2 separate regions of the Homo sapiens genome follow, and region 1 is linked to region 2. Evidence: promoter capture Hi-C in human tissues and cell types (Jung and others, 2019). All regions are on one chromosome and are shown on one strand. The core of a region is centred on a gene start or on the middle of the fragment in contact, and the rest is flanking DNA. Distances in the headings are between cores, read along the strand shown. Region 1 overlaps LOC105370789 (a long non-coding RNA gene). Region 2 holds the start of EHD4 (EH domain containing 4).

Region 1 (3,944 bases), core at 911-3,410, 1.0 Mb after region 2:
TGCGGTGAGCAGCGATCGCGCCATTGCACTCCAGCCTGGGCAACGAGAGAAACTCCATCTCAAAAAAAAAAAAAAATTTTTAAAACATCCCTGCTGTTGTTCCAGCCATTCTATTTTCAGGGATCCCTACACAAGGGTGCCAGAGGGCAGGGCCTCTCAACTTTAATGTGAGAACTGTCTCCTGGGACTCTTATTAAAAATGCAGACTGATCTGCTAGGTCTGGGAGTCATATCCAGTAAGCTCCCAGGTGATGTGGAGGCTGCTGGTCTACAGGCCCTCTCTGAGTAGCCAGAGGATGTTCTTTGGTTATCTCCTCAAAATTTCCCCCCACCCCCGACATCACGCAACAGCCACCCTTACGTCTTGCCACAGTTGCCCGCTCAAGGACAGACAGGGAACCCAGACCCAAGGCAGTCAGGGCTAGCTTCCCTCCCTCATCCCTAACCTTTCATCAGGTGGCCCAGTCAGAGCAAAACAGGCCACTCCCATGGTCATGAACAGAAAAGTTTATCACCCAAGGGCTGCAGAGGAGCCAGCCTGAGGGCACCACTGCCAACAGAGAAGGGCAAACTCCAGGGAAATGGAGCAGGATCCCTGACTGAGCCTTACCCAAAGCTCCCTTCCTCTTAACTGTTGGGTTTCACCACTGACTCCTGTTTGCTTCATGCTTGTTTGAACTCGGTTTTCCGTTACATGCAACTTGGACGAAAAGTCCGTGACAGCATAATTGAACCTAGCAAAAAATTGAGACAACCCAAAAGCCTCACAACATAGGACTGGTGAAATAAATGTTTGCATATCTATATGATAGAATGATTAGGTGGTCATTAAAAATCATTCTCAAGAATATTTGGTATCATGGGAAAATGCTCAGAATATACTCTTAGGAGAAAAGTAGGGCACAAAGAGGGAGCACTAGAAGGAAGTCAGCTTTCCTAGATGGTGGAATTATGAATGATTTCTAAGTTCTTTTATGTCATTTTATTTCTGTATTTCTAGCATATCCTACTTCTCATATTCCTTTCTATTTCTAGTACATATGAACAGCCTATTCCAGAATACCCTTTATCTCATTTTTAAATTTCTCCAAGCATAATGGATACCTCTTATCGTGATACAATCTACAGCTCAAGTGTTGTCTTTTGAGACAGGGATGTCACTCTGTCACCCAGGCTGAAGTGCAGTGACATGATCACGACTCACTGTAACCTTGACCTCCCAGGCTCAAGAGATCCTCCTACCTGAGCCTCTTGAGTAGCTGGAACTACAAGGGTGCGACATCATACCTGGCTAATTTAAAAAAAAAAAAAAAAACGTAGAGATGGGATCTGTGTTGCCCAGGCTGATCTTGAACTTGTGAGCTCAAGCCATCCTCCTGCCTCAGCCTCTCAAAGTGCTGGAACTACAGGTGTGAGCCACTGTGCCCGGCCCAGCTCAAGTGTTCTTTTAAAAACCTGTCACTGAGCCAGGCACAGTGGCTTTTCCCTGTAATCCTAGATACTTGGGGGGCTGAGGTGGAAGCATTGCTTGAGGCCAGGAGTTCAGGACCAGCCTGGACAACAATAGCAAGACCCGGCATGTAAACAAACAAAAAACACTTCTGTCACTGTTCTTCCAAGTCCTTAGTGGTTTCCTGCTGGGCTCAACAAAGGCTGCAGAACTAATGGGATCCTCAGGCCTTGCAACTTTAGCCTGCGACCCTGCTATCTAACATTTTTTTTTCTCTTGGAATGTGCCAGGCTCAGTGCTCCCTCAGGGATGTGATGCACATGGTTCAATTTTTAAATTTTTTTTTCTTGAGACAGGGTTTCACTCTGTCGCCTAGGCTGGAGTACAGCGGCATGATCTTGGCTCGCTGCAGCCTCAATCTCCCAGGCTCAAGTGATCCTCCCACCTCAGACTTCTGAGTAACTGAGACTATAGGTGCCTTCCACCATGCCCAGCTGATTTTTTTTTTTTTTTTTTTTTTTTTTTTTAAGAGACAGGGTTTTGCCATGTTGCCCAGGCTGGTCCTTGAACTCCTGGACTCAAGTGATCCTCCTACCTCTGCCTCCCAAAGTACGTGAATTATAGGTGTGAGCCACCATGCCTGATTTTTAAATTCTTTATAACATTCTGTATTTTCCAAATTTGCTACTTGATCATGTGCTATTTTATAATCAGTGCTATTAAGAGAAAGTTTATATTTTTAGGGAAAATTAAGAAAACTCAAAAACAAGAAATGACTTCAATCAGAACTTTTTAAAAAATTTTTTTTTGTAAAGCTAAGGTCTCACTGTATTGCTCAAACTGGTCTCAAACTCACGGGCTCAAGTGATCCTCCTATCTTGGCCTCCCAAAGTGCTGGGATTACAGGAGTGAGACACCAGTTAAAACTTTCTTATAGTGTGTCTCCCTATTTCAATTCAGTTCATGTGATAAAATAACATGGCCAGGCACGGCGGCTCATGCCTGTAACCCCAGCACTTTGGGAGGCTGAGGTAGGCTGATCACTGGAGGTGAGGAGTTCCAGAACAGCCTGCCCAACATGGTGAAATCCCGTCTCTACTAAAAATACAAAAAAATTAGCCGGGCATGGCGGCAGCACCTGTAATCCCAGGTACACAGGAGGCTGAGGCAGAAGAATAGCTTGAACCTGGGAGGCAGAGGTTGCAGTAAGCTGAGATCATGCCACTGCACTCCAGCCTGGGCCAGAGAGCAAGACTCCATCTCAAAAAATAATATAACACTAAACAAAGATAACATGGTAACCCCCGCTACCCCTGAATGTTTGCAAGGAGACTTTGGAGAAGCTGTACTTCAGACTAAGGAATGACTCCAAAGGCTGCAATTTAAGGCGCCATGGGGAAATATTTTAAAGCAGGTATGTCTTTGTTATGCCTCAGATGCTGAGCTTTGATAATCACTTGCACCGGTTTGTAAGGCTGATGTTTTGGTTTATCTGGGCATAGGACCAGCTTTTCTCTCGGTAGAGAAGGGAGCCCCTCTTCACCGCCCATCACCAAAGTGAGCACCTCTTTACCCTCTGAGTGTTATTTGTGGACCTTCTCTTTTTGGCATAAAAGCTTTTTGTCAGATCTATTTTTTTACTTCTCTACTTATGAATACATGATAAACTTGCACAGTTCAAAATTAAAAACATACAAAAGGGCATAAAAAGAAAGTCTCTCTCCCATCCCATCCCCTGGAGCCCGGTTCCCCTCCTGGGAGGCAAATTATGTTGACAGTTTAAGATTCCTTCCAGACACATTTACATGCTTTTTAAAAAACAGGATTACACTCACGTTATATGTCTAATTTTGTATGCTTTTTGTCCCACTTAACACTACAGTAATAACATTAATAGTTATGTAAAGAGATTAAAATGTTTCTTAACATTAGCAAATACTCTTCATAAACATTCATGACTGCAAATATGCCGTCCAAGGGAGATGAACCATTTTATTGTTTACTGCTGGACAAATAGTTTTCTCCTCTTAAATTCTCCGATTCTGTCCAAGATGAAACTATCTACATGAGTTCAACTAGAGACTGCAGTTTAGTTTAGACCCAGATCAGCCATTTGCTCCCTGGGGACACAGGGCTCTGGGGTCAGGAGGTGGCCCAGCGCCAAGCCAGAAGGATAAGCAGGTGGTCCCTGGTCTACATGGCCTGCAGGGGCTGGCTGTGTGGTCCAGGCCAGTAGAGCAGATATATTTAACTGGGTCAGATGCTGCTGACTGTGTCATGACCCAGGAGGATTGTGCTGTTGGTAAACAAACCAGAATGGCCTGGCTGCAGCCAGCCCTCCTTCCTCCGCCTGCTGACCCGCCAGGGGGTGTGAGAAGTGGAGGAGAGCATGACCAGGGAGACGGCTCAGACACAGGGGCCCCTGCAAGGCATCTCGCCCAGGAAGGATTGGGAAGTGGCCTTGTCTCACTGCCCTTAGTTGTTTTTTTCCTTA
Region 2 (3,984 bases), core at 82-2,581:
ACATCAGAGTCACCTAGGGCATCTGTTGAGCTCCATCTCTCCTCAATATTTTAACTCAGTAGGTCTGGACTGAAGACCAGGAATCTGCATTTTAACAAGCATCCCAGCTCATAAATGCATATATGCAGGTGGCCCCATGGATCACACTTGAGAAATGCTCTAAAACAACTAAGAAATATTCCTAAGCTACAATCAAGGACACAAAAGGTGATTATTTCCCCCAATCTCAACTTAGATAAGTGAGTATCCTTTTAACCTAGAAAAGAAACAGGCCAGGGGCGGTGGCTCACGCCTATAATCCCAATACTTTGGGAGGCCAAGGCAGGCGGATCATCTGAGGTCAGGAGTTCAAGACCAGCCTTACCAATATGGTGAAACCCCATCTCTACTAAAAATACAAAAATTAGCTGGGCATGGTGGTGAGCGCCTGTAGTCCCAGCTACTCAGGAGGCTGAGACAGGAAAATTGCTTGAACCCGGGAAGCGGAGGTTGCAGTGAGCCGAGATCGTGCCACTGCACTCCAGCCTGGGCGACAGAGCGAGACTCCGTCTCAGAAAACAACAACAACAACAAAAAACAGCTAGGAGGTGACAATGACTCACATGTCAATATGTGGAAATAAAGTTGTAATAATGAGGATAATGTAATAATGAGAGTAATGACTAAATTTTCGGCTTTACAGAAAAACACATAAAGAAAACTAAGGGGAAAAAGCCTTTAGCTGATCCAGAATTTAGTGAGGGCAATGTGGAGAAGTAGGAGAAACGGCTACTCAAATAGATTCCAGTCCACTTCCCCTCAAGATTGTGTCAATTATGCCCGTGAGCCTGGGTCTCTTGGCCTGTAAAACGGAGTCATAACCACCCGCCCCCGGGAAGACAGAACCTGCCTGTCCACTTTCTGAACTTTTCATCCCCAGTATCGACGTCCAGAGGCCTGAATGAGTAAACGTTCCAGGAGATGGAGCAGCCTCCGGAGGCTCGCTTTGGGCAGCTCAGATTTACCCGGAAGCCGATGCCACCTGGCCAGAGGTGAGGCACCGGCAACCAGAAGGGGGCCCTGAGCATGACCGGTCAGTGCCACCCGGCCGGGAAGACACCATCTCCCCGCCCAGTCCTCTAGAATGACTCCGTCATCAATAATTCATTAAGAACCTCCTCTCAATTGGCTGACGCCTTCAGCCCTCTCTGGCAGAGATCCAATCAGGAAGGACCTGAGAGAGCTCGTCTGAATAGTGGGCGAGCGCGCGTGACGTAGCGGCCGAAGACTGGCTGTGGCAGCACAAGGCGGGGCCCTCCTCGGGCGGCGGCCAGCGCGGCCGGGGCGGCTCAGTGCGAGCCGGGGAGAGTCGAACCCGGAGCAGGGTCCCATCCGAGCGTGGACTGGCGGCAGGATGTTCAGCTGGATGGGGCGGCAGGCGGGCGGGCGCGAACGCGCTGGCGGCGCGGACGCGGTGCAGACGGTGACGGGCGGGCTGCGCTCGCTCTACCTGCGCAAGGTGCTGCCGCTGGAGGAGGCGTACCGCTTCCACGAGTTCCACTCGCCTGCGCTGGAGGACGCCGACTTCGAGAACAAGCCCATGATCCTGCTGGTGGGCCAGTACAGCACCGGCAAGACCACCTTCATCAGGTACCGTCACCGCCCCTCGCCCGGCTCCCGCCCCGCTCCGCCCTCCCCACGTGTGCGCCGCAGTCGGCCGCCTCCCGCCGCTGCCCCTCCCGGCCGGCGCGACCTCGGGGACCCCTCCCGGAGCTCGGCGCCCGGTGCCCTCGGCCCCGCCCCGGCTGGCCAGCCCCGCGCGCTGGAGGGTCCCGCGAACCCGCGCCCTGCGCACTCCGAGCCCTCCTTCCTTGCGGTTCGGAAGGCGTTGCTCCCGCTGGCCTCGTCCGGTCGCCCTGGCGGGAGGGTCCAAGGGAGAGAGGGGGCGCGAGCCATAATCAGCATATTCTTGACGAGGGAGTGATGCCTAGGGATGGAAATGGGGGGAGAGGCGTAGGGTATCCGAATGGGACAGAGTCCTAGTTGGAGAGTTTGTTTAACTATTCATTTGTTCAACTATTTCTTGAACAAATGAATGGCAGCAGGAGAGCGTATCGCCCAGGCCCCCTTCCCTTGAGGTCTTTACGTGCCACCCCACAGTGTTGTGGGGAGGGGATAAAGAGGCCGCCTACGTTCAGTTCATGCACCGCCTTTAGCCGCCCGTAGGAAGTGAGCTGCGTGTAGCAGCCGCACCAGCCTGTGGAACTAAGGGGGAGTGTCATATTACTATTTGTTAGTTTCCATTTCTTAGGTGGGTCATTCCCTCCTCGCTTACCCTTGACAACTGAAAATATTTGTCATGCTTACCGTGTTTCTGAAAGCACACAATCACTGTGCATACCCTGTGGTTCAAATCATATAGTTTCAAAAGAAGTGACTTTTGCTGGGAAATTATTTAGACAGAAACAGATTGCTTTGTTGATCACCTGTTTTATTTCTAAAGCAGCCAGCATATTTAGGCTCACTGTTTTTGGTAAGAAGAACTTATTTTTCTGACTTAAGCCGTGTATCAGTTGAAACAAAGTGCTGATCATTTAAGGTTTTGGTCCAGGGTTTTGGAAATTGTAACAATCTCTTCATCATTTGATGTGCAACAGGTGTTGAGAAAACTGCATCTATATTTGGATACATGCCATTTCTGTTAAGTAGCGACCTCTTTTTCTCCACTCCAGTGACCTAAATAGTTCCTACAAATAGAGTAGCTATCACTACAGGAAATATGTTAAATCCAGGCCTCCAGATACACTGCGAATGAATTCCACAAAACAAATATACTGTGTATTGAAATGTCGTTCTAGATAATAAATTGAGTGTGAAGAAAGTAATTTCAAAATTGCTTTATTTGGTGCTTATGGACAAGACAAAAATAGAATTAAATATGTCACCGTCACCCAGACACTCAAAATGAACCATAGCTGTATTACAGTAACTGGCACCTTGAAAGATGACAAATGTCACATTTAAGGTCTCAGTAATACTGTCTAGTTTTTAGGTACTAGGGATAATAAAGTGTTATGGCCAAGTGGTACAAGAGTGGGAAGCGGTACTGTTGAAACATACAAAGAAGAAAGGCATATATTTTTGTAATTTAGTGGTGGCATGTCCCCACACCCTAGGCATTTCCTCCTGTTTGTCTTTGCTGTGAGGTCCTTGTTGTGCCCAGGTGTCATCAGGGAGCCCCTGCTAGATGCTGTGCCAACCTGGAGATAATGCAGCCCTCTCTCTGCTCCCATAGACTGGATAGCTAGCCAGCCTGATTATCAACTCCCAGGAAGATGAATACAACTCACAGGAACATGAATTTATCTTTTGTATTTTTCCAGATTTCTCTCTCATTATATTCTCACTCTTCTCTCTGTTTCATTATTTGGAGAAATTTGTGGAATAGCTAAGCGCAGTTTTATGAAGGGTTCTGAGATTTGATTCCTGGCAGCTACCTCATCCAAATTGGCCACCTCTCAGCAGGTGCTGGAGCTGTGGGCCACCCTAGGGTGAGGGAGGAATCACCTTATTAGGAAGCCATTTGTTCTTGAGGCTTTCCTTGAGCTAAGTGGCTTTGTTGTTAGGTGATGTACACAAGGTAGACCAGTGAGGTTAGAAGAAAATCAGTGTGGGCAGGAAGCTTGGTGAGGCCACAGGAGACCTGAATTGCTTTTCAGATTGGAGCTAGGAGGAAGTGATTTAGCACCCGGGAGGAAATCCCCAAACAAAAGGGCAGCTACCCTGGAGACTTGTGAACTTGGAATTAAATATCACCCCAGACACTGTAAATGAACCATGGATTCATCTTGAGCGGAAGGGTTGGCCCAGGGTGCTGAGCATCCTGGATCCTGCCTTAGTTAGAGCCTGGTTAGTGGTCTGGGTTGTTTGCTTCTAGCGATTGGGCCCTAGAAGCTCATACTTGGCTGTGGGGTGTACCTAATCTACATAGCCATAGATTCTTAT

The links. The method cuts DNA at HindIII sites, captures the fragments that hold promoters and counts their contacts. A contact is called where the count stands out against the background at its distance.
Region 1: a fragment that was not itself captured here is called in contact with the fragment with the promoter of EHD4 in region 2 in 1 of the 25 tissues and cell types used here (spleen).

What each region holds. Positions count from the first base shown.
Region 1 is chr15:40,966,153-40,970,096 of GRCh38, reverse strand. All of the region lies in intron 3 of LOC105370789 (a long non-coding RNA gene), which reads right to left. Among named protein-coding and RNA genes, the nearest start is that of CHAC1, 15 kb to the right of the region's middle. RefSeq lists an enhancer at 1,353-2,004. The HindIII fragment of the contact is 7,984 bases long and covers 1-3,944 here.
Region 2 is chr15:41,969,904-41,973,887 of GRCh38, reverse strand. EHD4 (EH domain containing 4) reads left to right here and starts at 1,331. Exons shown (of 6, transcript NM_139265.4): 1 at 1,331-1,629. The coding sequence starts at 1,394. It overlaps PLA2G4E-AS1 (PLA2G4E antisense RNA 1), which reads right to left and starts at 1,125. Exons shown (of 4, transcript NR_120334.1): 1 at 890-1,125; 2 at 1-84. RefSeq lists silencers at 1,280-1,409, 1,450-1,519, 1,620-1,889 and an enhancer at 3,652-3,871. The HindIII fragment of the contact is 6,706 bases long and covers 1-3,984 here.